Regions from separate parts of the Homo sapiens genome. Here regions 2, 3 and 4 are each linked to region 1. The links are contacts of gene promoters, found by promoter capture Hi-C in blood cells and fetal thymus (Javierre and others, 2016). All regions are on one chromosome and are shown on one strand. Each heading gives the region's core, a stretch centred on a gene start or on the middle of the fragment in contact. The rest is flanking DNA. Distances are from core to core; before and after follow the strand shown.

The links. Contacts are between HindIII fragments. The CHiCAGO score rates a contact against its expected background, and 5 or more counts as called.
Region 2: a contact is called between a fragment that was not itself captured here and the fragment with the promoter of EPHX4 in region 1, in 1 of 17 cell types (fetal thymus). The highest score is 5.1, in fetal thymus.
Region 3: a fragment that was not itself captured here is called in contact with the fragment with the promoter of EPHX4 in region 1 in 3 of 17 cell types (total CD8 T cells, fetal thymus and total CD4 T cells); the score reaches 7.2 in total CD8 T cells.
Region 4: a fragment that was not itself captured here is called in contact with the fragment with the promoter of EPHX4 in region 1 in 1 of 17 cell types (endothelial precursors); the score reaches 5.4 in endothelial precursors.

Annotation. Positions count from the first base shown.
Region 1 is chr1:92,027,164-92,032,573 of GRCh38, reverse strand. It overlaps EPHX4 (epoxide hydrolase 4), which reads right to left and starts at 2,589. Exons shown (of 7, transcript NM_173567.5): 1 at 2,264-2,589; 2 at 1-69. The coding sequence starts at 2,494. LOC124904218 (a long non-coding RNA gene) reads left to right here and starts at 2,187. Exons shown (of 2, transcript XR_007066222.1): 1 at 2,187-3,209; 2 at 5,370-5,410. RefSeq lists an enhancer at 2,389-2,890. The HindIII fragment of the contact is 12,008 bases long and covers 1,623-5,410 here.
Region 2 is chr1:92,650,110-92,655,519 of GRCh38, reverse strand. The region is part of intron 13 of EVI5 (ecotropic viral integration site 5); the gene reads left to right. Among named protein-coding and RNA genes, the nearest start is that of EVI5, 130 kb to the left of the region's middle. The HindIII fragment of the contact is 1,164 bases long and covers 682-1,845 here.
Region 3 is chr1:92,603,777-92,609,186 of GRCh38, reverse strand. EVI5 (ecotropic viral integration site 5) reads left to right here. Exons shown (of 20, transcript NM_001350197.2): 17 at 1,460-1,606; 18 at 3,785-3,880. Among named protein-coding and RNA genes, the nearest start is that of GFI1, 120 kb to the right of the region's middle. The HindIII fragment of the contact is 823 bases long and covers 2,534-3,356 here.
Region 4 is chr1:91,510,771-91,516,180 of GRCh38, reverse strand. CDC7 (cell division cycle 7) reads right to left here. Exons shown (of 12, transcript NM_003503.4): 5 at 4,491-4,584; 6 at 4,258-4,400; 7 at 2,874-3,123; 8 at 2,138-2,233; 9 at 1,184-1,362; 10 at 305-387. Among named protein-coding and RNA genes, the nearest start is that of CDC7, 13 kb to the right of the region's middle. The HindIII fragment of the contact is 295 bases long and covers 3,172-3,466 here.

The sequences.
Region 1 (5,410 bases), core at 1,340-3,839:
ATGAAGCAGCAGCATAAGTGGTTTGCCTCTTTCTCCAGCAGCAACATAGTGAAATCTTAACCCTGAATCCTGAAAGTAGAGGGCATGGAATTTTAGTGATGTTTGTGTTGATTGACAAAGCAATATATTTAGCATTTCCATTTCATTAAAAAAATAGTAACTTGCCTTATTTTAAAACATTTGTGTATTTACAATATCTTCATGACACTCAGTTGCCTTATTTTTAACATCAAGAAATATATTTACTTTTATTAATTTTCAAAAAGAAAAGCAAACCCCATGACCTATTAATAGGGTAAATTGACAGATTCACTTTGTCAACACTCCCTTGACAGTACCTTCTCTTCTTGTTCTAGTACAGTCAATTTATATATTATGAGCTTCTGAAGCAATGTCACAATTTGTAACTTTCATCTTACCATTTGTAACTTTCATCTTACTGATGTGTCACATTTCATCTCCCTCAAATGCTGCAGGACATGTAAATAATTCTAATCTGAATTTATATTTCTGCCATGTTTACATCCTAGTCATCTACTTTTCTCAGCTTGCCCGTCAAGAGCTGTGCCATCAGTTATATAATTCACACCTCCTTCTCTTATTTTTAGGTCTCTCCTTCCCACATTATTATTTTGAGTGTTGCATGTTCTGTTCCCCTTGCTGCCTGCTCATGTCATGTCAGTGTGCGTTTCTAATAAGAGAATGCCCTGAGTGCTCAAGACTTCACTCTGCATGTAGGAGACAAGAAAACCCAAGGAAAATTAAAAAAACATGGGAATGAGTCAGGAATTCAAGCAAATACTAAGCAGGCTGAATTGAGGAAAGTAGAGGGAACAGCAGGAATAAAAATCTCTGAAAGCAAGCAAGCTAGGAAACAAAAAGAACCAAAAGCTAAACACAGACATTGGGTTTTTATAGCAGGCAACTCAAGCAACTGAGTTTTCAGATGTGAAAGAATCATTTTGCAGATTCAGAAGATGAGGCCCAAAGATGGTAACATGAGTCATAAAATGGTTGAGAGCAGGGCTGTGACCAGAATCTCCATCTTGTCCTAACTCCCAGGACAATGCTCTTTCCACTCGGTTCTCTGTCTCTGGGGAAGCTCTTTAGGCGGCCAGAGCGAGGGGAAAAGTGTTTTATGGAATTCCAGATGGTTCTTATACTACTTTTACCCCTCAGGTTGAACAGAGATAACAAATCTGACTTTACCCTCAGCTGCACGATGGCTTCCTAGAGGTTCAATAACTTTTTTTATTGGTGGTGAGTCTTGGAGGATTAAATGTTATGGGCACTGCAATGGATTTAATTAACAGATACTTTATTGCACTGACTATGCATCAGGCATTGTTCTAAGTTTTTCGTGTTTGTTTTTATAAATATTAACCTATTTAATTCTCATGTCGACCCCAGGCAAGAAAGAAGTTCTCTTGCCCTTCTGAACTTCAGCTGCGGGGCAATTTAGCTCCTAACAGGAAATAAGGACTTGGTGACATAAACATCCCCTCTTATGAGGCTGGGTTTGAAAGGCCTGTGAGTCAGACTGCAGGGTGTATCACGGGAACTATTTCCCTTCACCACCTGGAGCCTCAGGAAACAGAATATTTGTGGGCTGTGAGGAAGCTTGAACAATTAGCGTCTGCAGGCATGGCTGGATTTACCTTTTATTCCATTCCTTTCTTTGGTCCCTGACTTCATAAGTATGCATTCCTCCCCACAACACACACAATTTACTTATTGTTTCATGCAACCTAAGTCGTCTGTGATCATAATAAACTCATGACTCCCAAAGACTGACTGTTTACTCTTATTATCTCTAAAATTGGGCAAGAACAGCCTCCTGAGACATTAGGATGCCACGAGGAACAATTCTCTACAGCTGATCTGAGCTCTAAAGGGCAAAAGGGTGACAGGAGACAGCTTCCCCTTGCAGTAGGAAAAAGAGCAGGTTTATTCTGGGTTGTTGTGGCGCCGGGGGGCAGTAATATAAGAGGCCCCTGATTAGAGAAGTTCCACATTCAGAAACCAATCAAGGTGCCTGCAAAGACCGAGTGCTGTTTATCTGTATCTCTCTCTCTCTCTCTCTCTCTCACACACACACACACACACACACACACACGACACACAGGGACCCAACCCCTCCTCCCCTCCTGCCAGGACACTAGGGGACGCTGAGCCAGCGTCTCGGAAGGAGAAGCCCGGAGCCCCCCACCCTCGCGGCGGTCACGCTCCCTCCCGCTCCCGCCAGGCCCGCGCGGCCCTTCACCTTGATCCGCACGTAGCAGTGGGTGCCCAAGGAGGGGTCGCTCAGGCACGCGGGAGGGTGCTCCCGGGCGGGCCGCCGGAAGGTCTGCGCCGGCCCCTTGCCGAGGCTCCACAAAAGTTTGAGCAGGTGGATGGAGGCGCAGAGCCCGCAGTAGCAGTAGACCAGGGACCAGAAGAGCAGGGACCGGAGCGTGAGCATCAGGCGGGGCAGGCAATCCCGCAGCCTCGCCATTGGGAGGCGGCGGCGGGGCCCACTGCCCTTCCTCGGGAGCGGGTGAGCGAGCGCCGCAGCGCGCCAGGCCAGCCCGCCGTCGCCTCTCGACGCGCGCCTCCCCCGGCCCGGGGCGGCCGGCGTTCCGTGTCACCGCGGCGGCTCCGCACACGCGCCGCGCCCAGCCCGGAGCGCGCAGGGGAGAGCCGGGCCTGCGGGGTGCGGCGGGCCAGGCCGGGGTGCAGAGCTTGGCTGTCTTCCGCGGAGAGCGAGATCCCGTTTCAAAATCGCAAAACTGTGGGGGAGGATGAAGGCGAGACTTTCCCAAACCATCCTGGGCACCAAAGAAGGTAGCGCCACTCAGTCTTCTTTGTTGTTCTCAATGTATCAAGCAAAACTATTTCTAAGCCCACATATTCGTGTGTCATAGTTCAGGGACACAGGTCAGCGACAAACTTCCATGCTATTACACCCAAAGAGATTCTTTAGAGTGCAAAATCACTCTGCACTCTGAAAGATACCAGCCTTCCTCTTCTCAAAATCTTTCGTGGAATCATAATTTCTGTAGAAATCCGCCTATGCCTTGCCTGGTTCAGCCACAGCAAACTTACAGAGAGCTGCAACCCCAGGGATACAACGAATGCTTCAACAACGTGACGCGGCAGAAGCCTGGCCAGAAGGCCACACACCTGAGAGTTCGTCGAAGGGCTGGAAGCCGTGAGAGTGACAGTCCTCGGTAGGTATCTCAGCCTCAGCACCGACATGGCCACTCTTGTCCTGACCTCTTCTATCGTCCAGTTCACTGTTAGAATTTCATTAAGCCTTTTCCCAATCACCGGGTCAGGTATTAAGTGTTCATTTTTTATGAGAAACTGTCAAACTGGTTTCCAAAGTGGCTGTACAATTTTGAATTTACTTCAGCATGTGTGAGTTATACAATTGACCTTTGAACAATGCGGGGGGTTAGGGTTGCTGAACCCTTTCACATCTGAAAATCCATGTATAACTTTTGAGTTCCCCCAAACTTAAGTACTAATAGCCTACTACTGACCAAAACAATTAACATATGTTTATGTATTACATACTGTATCTTTATAATTAAGAAAAATGTTAAAATCATAAGGAAGAGAAAATACATTTACTATTCATTAAGTGGAAGTGGATTATCTTAAGAGTGTTCATCCTTGTCATCATCAGGTTAGGTAAGCTGAGGAGGAGAAAGAAGAAGGGAGGTTGATCTTCCTGTCTTGGGGTGAGGGGGAGGGAAGAGGTGGAAGAAAATCCATGTGTAAGTGGACCTACACAGTTCAAACACATGTTGTTTGAGGGTTAACTGTATTTTGCTCTTTTTTTCTAGGGTCTTGAGTTAGGAACTTATTGAGACCTTTGCAATTTCTAATGCAATCATTTAGCACCTATACATTTCTCTCAGTACTCTTTTTATTTTATTTTTTGAGACGGAGTCTCACTCTGTCGCCTAGACTGGAGTGCAATGGCGCGATCTCCATCTCAGCTCACTGCAAGCTCCGCCTCCCGGGTTCACGCCATTTTCCTGCCTCAGCCTCCTGAGTAGCTGGGACTACAGGCGCCCGCCACCATGCCCGGCTAAGTTTTTTGTATTTTTGGTAGAGACGGGGTTTCACCGTGTTAGCCAGGTTAGCTCGTGAACCGCCCGCCTCAGCCTCCCTAAGTGCTGGGATTACAAGTGTGAGCCACCGCGCCTGGCATCTCTCAGTACTCTTTAATCGTATTACATATGTGTTGATATGTTGTATTTTGCCATTTGTTATGTATTTTTTAAAATGTCCTGTTTTAGGTTGGGTGCTGTGGCTTACGCCTATAATCCCAGCACTTTGGGAGGCTGAGGCAGGAGGATCGCTTGAGCTCAGCAATTCAAGACCAGCGTGGGCAACATGGCAAAACCCTGTCTCTACAAAAAATAGAGAAATTAGCCAGGTGTGGTGGTGCACGCCTGTAGTCCCAGCTACTTGGGAGGCTGAAGTGGCAGGATCGCCTTAGCCCTGGAAGGTTGAGGCTGCAGTGAGCCAAAATCATGCCACTGCACTCTAGCCTGGGTTAAAGAGTGAGATTATGTTTCAAAAAATGAAAAACAAAACAAAACAAAACAAAAAACAGGGCCGGGGGTGGTGGCTCACATCTGTAATCCCAGCACTTTGGGAGGCTGAGCTGGTCAGATCACCTGAGGTCAGGAGTTTTGGACCAGCCTGGCCAACATGTTGAAACCCCATCTCTACTAAAAATACAAAAAAATTAGCCAGGCATAGTAGTGCACGCCTGTAGTCCAAACTACTTGGGAAGCTGAGGCATGAGAATTGCTTGAACCCGGGAGGCAGAGATTGCAGGGAGCTGAGATTGCACCACTGCACTTCAGCCTGGGTGACAAAGGGAGACTCCGTCTCAAAAAATAAATAAATAAAAAAAAACAAAGATTCCTGTCTTCCTCCTTGCCCCATTGTGTTTTTAATGTGTTTAGCAATTTTTCTATTATTACTTTCAGTCCTCCAAACTCTTAACTCATAACACATTAAATTTTTAAGAGATAGAGATCTTGCTATGTTGATCAGGCTGGTCTTGAACTCCTGGCCTCAAGCAATCCTCTCACTTTAGCCTCCCAAAGTGCTGAGACTACAAGCATGAGGTACTGTGCTTGGCAGTCCATTATTGACTTGTATCTGATTCTATTATGGCCCAAGAACATACTCCACATGACCTCTATTCTTTTAAATTTGTTTTATGATCTGGGATATGGTCTATCTTGGTGAATGTTCCATGGTTGTTTAAAAAAAAAAAACGTGTGGATAAGAGTGTTCTACATTTGCCCGCTAGATCATGTTGGCTGCTTGTGTCCTACCTTTTTTTTTTTTTCTTTTTCAAGAGACAGGGACTCGCTGTTACCCAGGATGGAGTGCAGTGGCT
Region 2 (5,410 bases), core at 14-2,513, 620 kb before region 1:
TGATGTTGAGTATTGACCTTTTGTTTACATGTTTAGAACTCACTTGAACATTTCTTGTAAGGCTGGTCTAATGGTGATGAATTCTGTTAGCATTTGCTTGTCTGGGAAAGACTTTTTCTCCATTTATGAAGCTTGTTCTAGCAGGATAAAAAATTCATGGTTGACAGGTTTTTTTTTTTCTTTAATAAGTCTTAAAATGGGATTGTGATTTTTTTTCTGGCTTGTAAAGTTTCTGCCAGTATGTCCACTGTTAGTCTGAGGGGATTTCCTTTACTGATGATTAGACACCTTTCTCTTGCTGATTTTAGGATTTTTTTTTTTCCTTCATGTTGTCATTAGTCTGATGAGTATATGTGTTGGTGAAGTCCTTCTTGCACTGTATTTTCCTAGAGTTCTCTGAGCATCTTCTATTTGGATGTCTAAATCTCTAGCAAGAGTAGGGAGTTTTCCTCAATTACTTCCTCAGATAGGTTTTCCAAACTTTTTGCTTTTTCATCTCCCTCAGGAATACCTATGACTTGTAGGTTTAGACATTTTATATAACCCCTATACTTCTCAAAGGCTTTGTTCATTTTTGAAAATTATTTTTTCTTTATTTTCGTCTGACTGGACTAATTCAATAGACCTGTCTTTAAGCTCTGAGATTGTTTTTTCTGCTGGGTTTAGTCTACTGTTAAAGCTTTTACCTGTATTTTATAATTTCTTCAATGAATTTTTCATTTCCAGACTTGATTTTCAGATTTCTTGGTGTTGATTTTCATTCAGCTTTCTCTTAGATCTCATTGAGCTTCTTGGAAATCAGTATTTTTAATTCTTTATATGGTATTTCAGAGATTTCATTTTAGTTAGGATCTATTGCTAGAGATTTAGTGTGATCTTTTGAGAATGTCATAACACTGTCTTTATACTTCCAGAATTGTTTGGCTGTTTCCTTCTCATATGGAGAAACTTATCTTTTCTTCTTATTTTTGAATTTACTTTCATTTGGACAGGAATTTTTTTCCTCTGAAGGATATAACTACAATGTATGTTCTGGGTGCTTCCTTGGCAGAATGTATGAGTTCTTTGAATATAGATAGCCTTTGTGTGGTGGTTTTCTCAAATGCTAGTTGTAGTAGTAGTGTACTGGCTGTGTGAGTAGTATCACAGCTTCCTGCAGGGCTGGGATGGCGGAAGTCTCAAGAATCTTATCTCATTTCCCAGCACTGTGCACTTGTGTCAGCAGATTTTCTGTTGGGTTGTGCATTTCAGCCTCCAGGACAGTAGGTGGTGGTTGTGGGTAAGAGCCTGCTGCAACAGAAGCAGATGGACAGGTGCTTGATCTTTGTTTAATGGGGGAAGTTCTTTGTTGCTTCAGGCAATGGGCTGGGCTGTGGAATGTACAGTGGCTTGAGCTCTCTGCTCACCCCCTAGCAGGGGACAAGTCAGGGCAGAGATGGACAGCCAAGCCGGCCCTTGGATTCCCCAATGATGAGCACAAGCAGAAGACCTGAGTGGGGGTGGCAGGGAAGCTCCTGGTAAGTACACTGAGGTCTCTGCAGAGAGGCAGGGAGCCACCCCAGTTCCATAGCCCGGGCAGGCAGGAATGTAATCTCTCTCCCTGTCATGCCCCTGTCCCCAAACTCAGAACACTCAAATTGGTCAGACACCACTGTCTATCTCCAGGCTGCAATGTACCTGAGAGCCATAAAAGATGACTGCCCCTTGGCTTGCTGCCAGAATGTCTTTGTTTTGGAGTCTTCTTCCTCAGTCCAAAACACACAGCTTTTTGGCTCTCCTCTCCCTTGCAGGAACGCTGCTGCTCTGCATGGAGAGGGGGAGGGGGTCCCACCTTTTGCACAAGCTTAGATATGGTGGACTGATTGCCAGTAAGACCACAGTCACCCCTGTCTGCCCCAGAAAGTCTGTGTGCTCTGATGCACCCATGCCAGTTTCCTGTGGTATCAGCCATGGCTATGCCTACAGCAGTGGGGTTGAGGAGGAGTCCCCATCTCCATGCCTGGGTCTGAGCACTCATACTAGGTTGGCCCCTGGGATGAAATCACACTTGCAAAGCCTTGTAGAGCCAAGCACAGTGCCCACATCTTTGCTGGAGGCAGTGCAGTCACTCAGAGTCCACAGGTGGTGAGCTCTTGGGCACAGGAAAGTATGTGTTCTGGTTTCCTTTGTCCCAGTGGGTGCTCCCTTGGCGTGCAATACTTGTTCTTCTCTTCGGGGCAGCAGTTGCCGAGGAACCCTGCAGCTCCCTGGGTCCAGCCATCCCTTTGCTGCTGCCACAATCTGAGCAGATGCCAGGGAATGTCTATGGGGCTCTGGTGATGTGGAGACACAAAGGCTGAGGTTCCCTGGGCAGGGTACAGACCCCTGATGGCTGTGCTCCCAGTATAGCACCCTATCGCTGCTGCTCAAGTCCGGGGGCAGAGTGAGCAACCCAGTGCAAGTTGGTAATCTGGTGCAGTGCCCTCAAGAAGTCCCCAAATCACTGCCCACACCAGTGTTTGGGTTTGCAGGGTAGAGGAGATCTCCGACAGTTCAGTTACCAGTGGTTTGTCACAGGTTAAAGAGGAGCCCAAACACTCCCAACTACCCTTTTGACTAGATACCAAATCCCTCGGGGTTCCTAGCCGATCTCTGCCAGCTTCTTGCTTCCTTCTTTTTCTGTGCCCCAGCTTCTTCACATGAGTTCTCTACTAGCCTCCAGCATTCTCTGGATAGTCTATTCACATTATGGTTATTCACTTGTAACCTTGGTTCTTCTTTCTGAAGAGAACTGGCATTGGACACCTCTAGTCATTCATCTCGAACCCTCTCCCCAAGAATAGTATTTGATTGTGCATACACACCACATTTCCCTTATCCGTTTGTCTGTTGATGGATATTTAGGTTGATTCCATATCTTAGCTTTTGTGAGTAGTGTTGCAATAAATGTGGGAGTACAGATACCTCTTCAACATACTGATTTTATTTCTTTTGGAGCCAGCAGTGGGATTGTTGGATCTGATTTTTTTCATTGTGATAAAATATATACAACCTAAAATTTACCATTTAAGTGTACAGTTCAGTGTCATTAAGTACATTTATAATATTGTGCAGCCATCTCCACTGTTCATTTATAGAACCTTTTCATTGTCTGAAACAGAAGCTCTGTATCTAGTAACAATAATCTTTTCCCATCTTCCCAGCCTCCGGTAACCTCTGTTCTACTTTCTGTCTCTATGAATTTGCTTATTCTGGGTAGCTTATTTAAGTGGAAGCACATAATATTTGTCCTTTTGTGTGTGGCTTATTGCACTAAGCATGATGTTTTCAAAGTCCATCATTGTTATAACAGGTATCAGAATCTCATTCATTTTTATGGCTGATAAAATTCCATAGTATGTATATACTACGTTTTGTTCATCCGTTTGTTTGTTGATGGACATTTGGGTTATTTCTGCCTTTTAGCTATTGTGGATAATGTTGCTATGAACATTGCCCTATAAGTATCTGTTTAAGTTCCTGCTCTTAATTCTTTTAAGCATATACCTAGAAGTAGAGTTGCTGGATCATATGTAATTTTATGTTTAATTTTTTGAGGTTGTGTCAGACTTATCTATAGCAACTGTACCACTTTCCATTCCCACAAGCAGTGTACAAGGGTTCCAATTTCTTTCTTTTTTTTTTTTTTTTGAGACGGAGTCTCGCTCTGTCGCCCAGGCTGGAGTGCAGTGGCGGGATCTCGGCTCACTGCAAGCTCCGCCTCCCGGGTTCACGCCATTCTCCTGCCTCAGCCTCCCAAGTAGCTGGGACTACAGGCGCCCGCCACTACGCCTGGCTAATTTTTTGTATTTTTAATAGAGACGGGGTTTCACCGTTTTAGCCGGGATGGTCTCGATCTCCTGACCTCGTGATCCGCCCGCCTCGGCCTCCCAAAGTGCTGGGATTACAGGCGTGAGCCACTGCGCCCGGCCCCCAATTTCTTAATATCCTTGCCAACTGTTGTTATTTTCTGATTTTTGTTTGTTAAGTAATAGCTATCCTAGTAGGTGTGGGGTAGTATCTCATTGTGGTTCAAATCTTTTTTTAACTTTAAAATTCTTTCAATGCAAAGACTATATCAAATAGACATTTAAATAATTTTTTGACCGAGATTTTGTTTATGGTTCCTCTCTTTCTCCTTTTCTCCAAATATAAGTAGCGGCCAATTTAGTCATGGGAAAGATAACAACTAATTTCTTTATTCTGTAATTTATTGTAAATATATCAGGTTCAATTTGTGTAAATACTTTGTATTTTCCTTAGTCCTATATGTGTTAATCTTATAATGGAATGAACTTATTCATATATTTATTTGAAAACTAATGTGCAAAGTATTGTCTTAAGTGCAGAGGGTACGATAATAGTAAACAAGAAAAACGAAGACTGCTGTTACGTGAAGTGTTCTAGTTGGGGAGACACATTAAACAGATACAATTTCAGGTGGTAATAAGGTGATGAAGAAAAATAAAAATAAAGCAGAGGAGAGGTGGTTTGTGCAGGTGCTACTGTAGGTAAGCTAGTTTTGGAGAGCTTCCCTGAGGAGCTAAGATTTGACCAGAGACTCAATGATATGAAGATGGAAACTATTTGAAGATCTGGGAAGAAACATTCCAGATAGAGCATACACTTAGTAGAAAGGCCTTTATCAAGGAATAAATTTGTGGTTTTCAAGGAACAGTAAAATGTATATTTATAAACCATAGGGAAACCACCTAAAATTTTTTTAGAGAAAAATATATAATTAGGTAGCAAATAACAGAGATAAAATTGAGTAATTTAAGAAATTATTTAATCAGGAAAAAGAAAAAAGGAACAGCAAGTAAGTGGATCAGATAGAAAATTTGGAAGATTATAGATTTTATTCCAACCATATCAATAATTATATTAAATGTATTTTAAATATACCAATTATAAGATTGGATAAAAAGTTAAAACATATCTGTAAGAAATTTGCTTTAAATACAAAGATCTTGTTAGGTTAAAAGTAAAAGAATGCGCCAGCAATGAATAACTAGAGAAGGAAATTAAGAAAAAAAGTCCATTCACAGTAGCTTCCAAAAGAATAAAATGCATAAGAATAAATTTAACCAAGAAGGTAAAGACTTGTACTCTGAAAACTTGTACTCTGAAAAAAAGGATGTTTACTCATTTGTCAAAATAAAGAAGATATAAATAAGTGAAAATCTATCTCGTATTTGTATATTGGAAGTCTTAATGTTAAGATGTCAGTACTACCCAAAATCACCTACAGATTCAATCCTATCAAACCTATCAAAATTCCCATGGACTTTTGCAGAAATGCAAAAGCTGATCTTAAAATTCACATGGAATTGCAAGTGGCCTTGAATAGCCAAACAATCTTGAAAAAAAAGAACAAAGTTGGAGGACTCAC
Region 3 (5,410 bases), core at 1,696-4,195, 580 kb before region 1:
CTTCTTTCTGTTATGAAAGTCCCTACTATTTCTTTCAGGCCTCTGATAGAATAATTTCGGGTTGAGAGAATTCTGGCTGGGTCATACCTGAGTGTGAAAACTACCTCATGTTAGTTCAAGGTCTATATGTTTTTTTAGCACATTCTGTAATTATAATACAATAAACAGCTAGCATTTATTGCTACATATTTAGGCCCTGTTACGCATATTATCTCATTTAATTCTGAAGACACCAAACTGAGAAATAGAAACTATTTTATATGCATTTTTCAAATAAGGAAATAGAGACTCAGAGATACTAGCTTGTTTGCTTAATGACCAAATATTAAAACCAGGATTCAAAATCTGTGTGCTTCATAAAAAGAGACTGTGCTAGACATTGAGAGCATGTAGAAATACACATATGCCGTATTGTGTGACATCAAGTTTACAGCCCAATAAATAGTGATGGTACCTTTTTTTTTTCCTTTCCTTTTTTTTTCTCTGAGACAGAGTCTTCTTGTCACCCAGGCTAGAGTGCAGTTGTGTGATCTCAGCTCACTGCAACCTCTGCCTCCTGGGTTCAAGTGATTCTTGTGCCTCAGCCTCCCAAGTACCTGGGATTATAGACGTGCACCACCATGCCTGACTAATTTTTGTATTTTTAGTAGATACGGGGTTTCACCATTTTGGCCAAGTTGGTCCCAAACTCCTGGCCACAAGTGATCTGCCCACCTTGGTCTCCCAGAATGCTGGGATTAGACATGAGCCACTGCACTGGCCATGATGGTACCTTTTGACTGGTTTGTGCTTTCTTTCTGGAACTGGAAAGAGGAATTAAACTCACCATTCCTGTATCTATCCATTTTGTACTCCCATTGCCAATCTTAGAAAGGAATACCTTCAAGTTGTGTATAAGAATTTTTATAGTTTACACCTATTTTTTGTATAAATGGTATATTGAGCTATATTGAGAGTCTCTAATATTGACAGTATGCATTCCTTTGGATGACTTGATTTTATTTATTTATTTATTTATTTTTAATTTTTTTTTTTTGAGACGGAGTCTCGCTCTGTCGCCCAGGCTGGAGTGCAGTGGCTCAGTCTCCGCTCACTGCAGGCTCCACCTCCTGGGTTCACGCCATTCTCCAGCTTCAGCCTCCCGAGTACCTGGGACTACAGGTGCCCGCCACCATGCCTGGCTAATTTTTTTTTTTTGTAATTTTAGTAGAGACGGGGTTTCACCGCGTTAGCCGGGATGGTCTTGATCTCCTGACCTTGTGATCCGCCCGCCTCAGCCTTGAATGACTTGATTTTAAAGGCAGTTTTATCTTATTTTTTAATGTTGATTTTGTTGAATAACAGTGACCTATAACTAGTAACATTTTTAATAATGTTATGGTATAAAATGGATAGGTAATTTTTTTTAATTTTTAGGTCTTGTATCTATAGTCTCAGTATTTATATTTCTGATTATTAGAACCAGATCAATAGTAACCATCTTCGAAGAGCAGAACAAGAGGTGATTAGCCTACAGGAGAAAGTGCAGTATCTTTCTGCACAGAACAAAGGACTCCTTACTCAATTAAGTGAAGCAAAGCGTAAACAAGCAGAGATTGAATGCAAGGTAAATATGTCAACTAACTGATTTTGTTTTTTGTCAATATAATAATGCCTTTTTTTTGTTTGTTTTATCGTGATTAGATTATCTTAAAAACAAAACAAAAAAGCTCGTCCTATTTTCTACTTTTCCTGAACTTGTTTTGGTAGTTGCTTTCAGACCAGGTCAGCTCATCTTGCTTCTGGGGTGGATTTTAGTCAAGAAACATTTTCAGTCACTTCCTTGGTTAATTTAATTTCCTGGATTGGCATTTACTAGTATTTCTTTACAGTTTTTCTTTTGACTGGTAACCCTTTAAAACCAGAGCTTTTAATGGCTTGATCAAAAAAGATGGGTCATTTAGAGAGGTTAGGGCTCCTCTGCTTTGATTGGTATCTTATTAGTGGGCAGTAATGTTAATAACATTGATACATGTTTTCTGGATAGACTAGAGAGCAAAAGAAATGTGTATGTACCAGTGTGTTGGGAAAAATGGGTATATTACCCATTATTATTTTAATCAGTTATATACTTTACTTTTTTGTGAAGTGTTTGGATTCAAAAAGCATCAAAAGTATTTGAATGCAAGTACATTCTTTCCTGAAATAAATTTACAATATAGCAGTGGTGAGAGAGTGGGGGAAAGGCAGTGAGATGGAAGGAGAGGAGGGAGGGTTTGGGGGGGTGTGTGTGTGTGTGTGTGTGTGTGTGTGTGTGTGTGAAATAACTAAAGAGATGACTGTAGACTGGGCATTAGAATGGATTACTAAAGGCAAGTTATGGGATTTAAAAAAATAAACTAGGCATCCACCTTTCCATGGTGAGATAGTAGGAATGATGCCCTTTAAAGATTCCAGCCTTATTATTGTATAAGAAATAAGACTTTTGATGGCACATGTAAAGCTGTAATTCCATCAGCTTATTCTGGTGACATTAAAAACCAAGAGTGAAGCTTGAATGGTTTATCAGTGTCACTGAAATCCAGAGATGAAATTACATCCTTATAAATATGCATGGCTGTTACAATGTATACTGACAGAAATCTGTAGGCAGTACTGAAATTCCTACTAAAAGCACAGTCACTTTTGAAGGATATGACTAAACTATAAATAAAATAATATTAAATGAGGTTGTATCAGTCTGATTTGTCATACCAATATCTGATTGAGTTTTTATGATGCTAAATTGTCTGTGTTGACATCTTATAGATAACTAAATTTAATCTTTTATTTATTATTGGTGTTAGTTTTCCTTAAACATATTTTGATAATGGTGTTACTAGATTAAATATTGCTCCTCAAATGCCTTAGTACCTGTTGAGCAAAGTAAAGTGTTCTTTGGAAATAAATCTTTGAGGAACTTGCTGTTGAAAATAATAATTTTCTTTGAACTTGTCTAAGTAATGGGCTCAGATTTAGAATATTAGAGGATTTTATGAACTAATATGGGATTTTATTTAATTTTTAATTGTTCATTAATACCTCTGTGAAGTATGTTACAGATGCAAACTCTGATATCTCCCCTGTGTTTAAGCTGTGTGTTAATTTATTCAATCTTTCGTGATGCCTTTGCAGGTTTTGAGAATGACCAATGTATTGTTACCCTAGCACCTAGTACATTCTGATTAAATGTGTATGTTTTACCCTGTTATGTTGGAATAATTCGGGAACAAAGTTAATTTTTCAAGAAAGCCAGTCCGTGAATTATGTAAATCTGATTCATTTTCATTTAGTATTATAATATTATAGCTTATGATTAATTTATAATTATTAAAGCTTTTTTATTTTTAGTTGTGTAAAATGTGTGGATATTGTTTATAATATTAATGTTATTTTCCCTCTCAACTTAATTTGAATGTTCTCACTTAAAGTTGAAATATTACAAGCCTGTGAACCCCAGTTTCAAAATGCAAAACACTCTAAAACCCTGGAGTTTTTTCATAAATTTCACACAAATTCCTTTGGAGGCAAAACTTAATTTGAATTGATATATGGCCATTTATAATTGTTATTTATTCCACTTGATGTGAACATTTATATCTCACTGCTTCGTTGTATGTATTGAGCATATTGTTTCATTATGGATGCTGCCTTAGACCCTGCTAGATAATACTTAACGTATGGTTTATGCAACCTATTACTTTTCTAAAATCTGAATTCCAAACACACCTGGTTTATTTTGTTTCGGTTTGGTTTACCACACTAGAATAAGGAAGAAGTGATGGCTGTGAGGCTTCGGGAAGCAGATAGCATAGCTGCTGTGGCTGAACTACGACAACACATTGCTGAGCTTGAAATCCAGGTACCATATGAAAATAATAAAGTACATGTAAAAATATAGTTTCTTCTATCCTCTTTGTCTGAACAGTAACTTACTCTTTATCCTCGTGACTGTGATTCTTTTTTCAGTAATCATTCATTTCCAATTTTTTTTTATTGTGGTAAAATAGACATAAAACTTACCATTTTAAAGTATACAGTTCTGCAGCATTAAGTATATTTGACACTGTTGTGCAGCCATCACCACCATCCATATCCAGAACTTTTTCATCCTCCCTAACTGAACCTCTTTGCCCATTAAACACTAACTTCCCATTCCCCAGCAACTGGCAACCACCAGCAACTGGAAACCACCATTCTACTTTGTCTCTATGAGTTTGACCACTCTGGTTACCTCATATAAGTGGGATCATACAATACAGTCATATGCTGCATAAGGACATTTCAGTGACGGACAGCATATATGGTAATGGTCCCATAGGATGATAATGAAGCTGAAAAATTCCTTTTGCCTAGTGACTATAGCCATCATTATGTTATAGTGCAACACATTACTCATGTGTTTGTGATGAGGCTGGTATAAACAAACCCACTGCACTGCCACTCTTATAAAAGTGTAGCACGTACAGTTGTGTATAGCACATAATACTTGATAATAAATGACTATGTTACTGGTTCATATGTTTGCTATACTATTTGTTGTTTTGCTATACTAATATTGCTATTTTAGAGTCTAATTCTACTTATACAAAACAAGAGTTAACTCTAAGACAGTCTCAGATCCTTCAGGAGGTTTTCCAGAAGGCATTGTTTTCATAGGAGATGACAGCTTCATGTGTGTTATTGTCCCTGAAGACCTTCCAGTGGGACAAGATGTGGAGGTTGAAGATAGTGATATTGGTGGTGCTGACCCTGTGTAGGCCTAAGCTAATATCTTAGTTTTTAACACAAATGTTTTAATTTTTTTTTTTTTTGAGGCAGGATCTCACTCTGTTGCCCAGACCGGAGTTTAGTGGCACAGTCATAGCTCACTGCAGACTCCAACTCCTGGCTCAAGCAGTCCTCATCAGCTTCCCGAGTACCTGGGACTACAGGCACACATGACCACACCCAGCTTATTTATTTATTTATTTATTTATTTAGTAGCAATGAGGTCTCCCTTTGCTGGCCAGGCTGGTTTCGAACTCCTGGGCTTAAGTGATCCGCCCACCTCTGCCTTCCACAGTGCTGGGATTACAAGCATGAGCCACTGCGCCCAGCCTTAATTTTTTTTTAACTTAAAAAATTTTTTGTTCATCAGGTGTAATGACTCATGCCTGTAATCTCAGCACTTTGGGAGGCTGAGGCAGGCAGATCTTGAGCCCAAGAGTTTGAAACCAACCTGACAAACAAAGTGAGACTCCCTCTCTACAAAAAATACAAAATAAAATTAGTTGGACCTGGTGGTGCACCTATAGTCCCAGTCGCGGTTACTTAGGAGGCTGAGGTGGGTGGGTTGCCTGAGCCTGGGAGGTCAAGGCTGCAGTAAGCCATGATCACAGCACTGCACTCC
Region 4 (5,410 bases), core at 2,070-4,569, 520 kb after region 1:
AATTCCACAGATTACATTTTGCGTATTTATTTACAAGATGGTAAGATCATCTTGTAAATAAATACGCAAAATGTAATCTATGGAATAAACTGTTTAAACAAAAAAAGAGAGGCAACATTAGGATTAAAAACTTTCATAAAGAATAGCATTAGCTCAAAAATAGGAATGCCACACTGCAAGAACTGCTTACATAATTAAAAGCAGAAGAACTCAAATATTAGTTATAAATAGACAAAGATCATAAAATAAAATACGTCTGGAACAATCCATTTTAACTAGGTTCTGTATTTCCAGTACAACATACCTGTAGTTTGATTGGGGCACTTTGTCAAGACCTCTGGTGCTCTGAATCCTGGTGTACCTGCCCTAGGGGCAACCTGCTGACGCCTTATGATGAAATAAGATTTCTCTAGTTATGTTAAAGTTGAACTATGTAAGTCTAAAAAATAACATTCATCAATTTAGTTCACAGTAAATTTTGCCTTGATACCTATATAATAAGTGTTACTATAAAGTAAATGATAATCTAGTGTGATAAAAATCCTAGATTTTTCTTCTTCTGTTTTTTACCCCCTCTACTAGTTCCCCGGACTTACTCCAGAAAGGTTTAAAATAACCTCCAAGAATAAAAAGCAGTAGTGGATAATAAGAGCCATAATAGAAAAAATAGAACCCAATAGCAATTCACAGGTATAAAAATTCATTTGTTTGGAGTAATTGATCACAGATACACTTATATATTTGAGTTAATCAAGAAAGGCTTTATGAAAGCCAAGCCTTGAAGGAAAGGAAGAAATTTATGAGTCAAAGAGTTGGAGGTGGGAGTAAAAGAGGAGCTCTACTATTTGGTTCTGGTTACTCCACATAAGCGGGAATAAAAAGAGAAAACAGAAAAGACTACATCAGCAATCAAAATGTGTGATTCTAAGCTTCTAAAAGCCACCCCGTCCCACTTATTTGCATATAAGAGCAAATGTGTTTTCCAGAGTATATCCATATTAAATAAATAATATATGAAAACTGTTATCATTTGCTCTTCAACATACTACTGCTCTGCATCAAGGCCCATTGCAGTTCACTGATCTGAACTGATCCCTTGCACTCACAAAATTATCCACCCAAGTCAATGCAATTTCTAATGGCAGCATGCTGGTGATTTTATAACACCATCAAAACACATTACCTTGAAAGGCAAATACTACAAACTTTATCTGTTGCATAGCAGTCACAGGTCAGGCTAGCTGGGCAAGAACTGGCAGTTTTCCTCATCACAGCACTATTCATAACTTTTGTAGAAATAGCCTTCTTTTTTGTTGCTAACTTTCTAGACAGTACATCCACAGTCTTTGACTGCTTCATGAGCTGTAAAAGAAAAGTCTCATTTTTCTATTTTCATGATATTAAACATGATGTCCTAAAATGCTAGTATGGCAAAAAGCAATAGCGGAAGCATAACTTTAAAAACTGCTGAATGGCTATTGGACTGTAAATAAACTGTTGTCTATTAAAATGTTTAAGGTCTTCTTGGGTTTTTCTGTAAAGTCACCTTATATTAAAATTTACTAATTAGTCCTAGCTTGGCCAATATTTGAGTTATACTTTATTAGAACTTTTCCTGATATATTACAGAAGTATAAAACAGTTATGTTCTAGTGTCTAACTCCATTTCAGAACTGTAAACTGCACAAGTACGTTGGCTAAAATCACAGTTTTAATTTGTTGCTCATGCTGTCTAGCTGTCACAAGATATCATAAGTCAATCTGAAATCATCTACATTGATGATGATTTTGTTAACTTTACAAACATCTTTACACTATCAACTATGTGTCAGAATAGTTAGCTAACTGTATGGAGCTCACACTCTAGCAATGACAGAAAGCCCTTAATGTTCTAAATGTTCCTCTAGAGAAAGACAGTAATAGCTAACCAAAAATGAGAAAAAATTCCACCAGAAAAGTTCAGAAAAAAACTGGAGAAAACAAGTTTTGACTAAATGCTTAAAGCAGTAATACCTTCTGCCAAAGCCAAACTCTAGTTTAAAAAAATTTCTGATAATAAATGTTAATCTAGTTATTACCTAAATTCTCTTCAGTGTATGACTGACTGACCATTATGCTATTAAGCTACATTACTTACTTTCACTGCAGGGCTCTCATGTGAAATGGAGCTGTGTATATTGAAATTTCTTTCTCCAAAAACAGAGCGCTGGACAGAAAGGCCTACAGATCCCTCCTACAATACCAACAAAAACAAGGAAAATAAGGATTATATCTGTAACACTTTCTGCCAGCTGTACTCTGCCATAGTTTTGAAAGAGTTAAGTGAGATGAAACAAAAACAGCTGCATCCAAGTCATTCTCAGGCACCAAACCACTTCTGTGAAAGGAGAAAATAGTCTAGACAGAACTCAACACCCATACAATGTTATCATAGTCCACAAATATATATAACTAAAAAAAAATTCAAAAACCACCTGCATGGATGTTACATTTTGCTGTGCAGCTAAAATGGAGATAGACACTTCAGAATTCCTCCCCTATAACTAATGCTTTCTTTTAAAAAGGATAATTAATCTGAACTTTTTAACATGCAGGGAAAATTTAATATTTTCCATTTTTGTCATAAAATATGATTTCATAATAGTTAATGACAGATGTTATAAACTGACAAAGTAAATTTTAGTTTTAAAATAGTAACCAAAATGATTCAGTACAAATCTTAGTGAAAATTTAATCAAATGAATACATATAACAAATGCAAAAAAAAGTTTTTTAAATTATAAGTACTATCCTAGTATTCTATCTCCCTCTGTTGGTTGAAGGAGTATATTTCTAAAACAGTGTCGGTACTTAAGAAATAAAAGAGATAGAACCTTTCCGTCTTTTCCTTGTTTAATCTGAATTTGTGCATTTGTGTAGGGTCTTTTAACAGAAGCTTTTGTGGTGGACTGCTGATCCAGCTCCTTAGGTACTGGGCCACTCAGTGGAATCTTGTTTCCTGTGATTATGTGGGATTTGTTTTGTGAACACCTTTCCTGCTGAGCTTCAGACTGGACAAATTTAAGAAGCTCTATTTTCGTATCATGGGTTCCTTGGGCCAAACCAAAGTCTACCAAGGCATACCTAAGAGACAAAATTAAGCATTTTTACTTATCTGTAGCAATTAAAGCTTAGTAACATTGTAATACTCTCAAACCATCCTCATAAAAACTGTAATTCTTTTTGGGATCAATTAGGAATTTATAACATTCTGGAAAAAAGAAAAAAAAATAAGTTTTCCAGACAAAGTAAGAATTTAACAGCTAACCAGGATTGAAAATTAAGAGTTGTCCCACAATCAAATTTTCTTTTTCCAGTGGTCTGTGTTAATAAGGCAGAAGAGGAATACATAACATAAACACAGTCCGTTGTTCTCTGATGGTGGCAGAGATGGCATCATAGCAGATAATTTCTAGTTAAGAAAGCTTAAAAAAATTAAAATCATGGTTTTAAAATCTGATCCAATTAAAGAAAATTAAAAAGTCAGGCATATAAAAGCTCAAAAAAGAAGTTATAATATTATTATGTTTAATATGATCCATTATATAGAGGTATTTATGTTATTTTTAGCTTATAATTTCTCTATAATTATAATCAGCATTAAAAAGTATACATAAAAATAAAACTTTTGTGTTAAAACAGGAAATTGGCTATCATGTGGTCCAATCCCCTCACTTACTAGAAAAGAAAAATGAAGTCCAGAGATAAGAGACATGTCTAAGGTCAAAAATTATTAGACTCTAAGTCTGTTAGTTCATGCTATTTCCACTGAACCATAGTACATCTAATAATGTACATTATTCCACTAATACAATTTTATCTTCTTCATCACCAAATTTCCCTTTCCAATCACAAAGAAACTGAAACAGAAATAATCTGTGCATGGCTATTGCAGTATGTTATATTATATCTAAGAGATATAAGTCAGAGGATACAAAGTAGCAGATATGTAGGATAAATAAATCTAGACCTAATGCACACTCTGAAGATTACAGGTAATAAAACTGTACTGTATATGAGATTCATACTAAATGAGTAAATTTTAGCTGCTCTTGCCGTAAAAACAAAAATAAGATGGGTAACTGAGATAAATATTTGCTTCACAATAGTAACTTTTGTACTATATATAACATCATGTTCAATACCTTAAATATAGACAATAAAATTGTTTTTTAAAAGAAATAGGATAAATATTTTCTAGTAACTCTTCATACTTACTTTTTCAGGCGCCTATTATATAAAAAATTGCTGGGCTTAACATCACGGTGAACAATACCAAACTGATGAATGCGTTTCAAAGCTTTGAACAGATTAAGCATATATTCCCGTACTTCTTGAAAGGAAAGAGAATTCAGAATGTCCTAAAACAAAGTTACAAATGAAATGAGTTACAAATATTGTTTGCAATTAAATATTTAGCTAATAAAAATTCAAGAAATATTAAAACCTACCAAAAACGACTCATGCTCCAGATATGGCATAGCAATAACTACATGATCATTCTTCCTAAAGCAGTATTTAACTCCCATGACATTATCTTGCCCCCTAGTGGAAAAATGCACAAGGAACTTTTAGAAGAAAGGTCAGAGGGACTGAAACTTTATGCCTAATTTTAAAAACCGCAATTTTAGCAATGCATACATATTGCTAGAAAACTGACTTAAATCATCATCACATAATATAAACACAAGTGACTTGTGTTCTCGTGTTAAAGTTTTCTTTTAAAACAAAAATGGCACCAGTTTTGAAGTTACTATAATAATTCAAACGAGGTAATTATAGTTGTGACTGGGGAAGCAGCAGAATGAGAAAAAAGGGAAAAGATTAATAAGACTTAGCAGATAAGATGGTAACAGTAATAAATAAATCAAGGTCACTAAACTAATAGATCAATGAGCCAGGATTTGAACCCAGGCATTTTGCTCCAGATATATGTTCTTAATCACTATGTTACACTGCTTCATAAAAGAGGAAAATAGGACAAAGGTGATTTCTATGATTTTGAGCCTGAGTAAGAAAACAATAGAGATACCAAAAAATGAGTAGAGAAGCCAGTAAAAGAAGCATCTAAAACCAGACCTCATCATTTTGATAGAGTTATCTAGACAAGGGACTAAGCCTTAAGTGAGAAGACAAGTGAGAAGTCAGTGAGAGTACCTGCAGAGAAGTGATACCTACAGACATGAAAATTAATAGCGAGAAAAGAAAACTGAGCTTGGAAGAAGCCAAGTTAGAGAGCCAAATAAGAAAGGAATTTTGAAGGAAGAGTTATTAGCATGGAAGTCAAAGAGAATAACAACTGAGGGAAGGCTTTTAGTTAGGCAAAGAATAATTAACTGGTAATTTTTAAGACAGCAATTTAAGTGGAAAG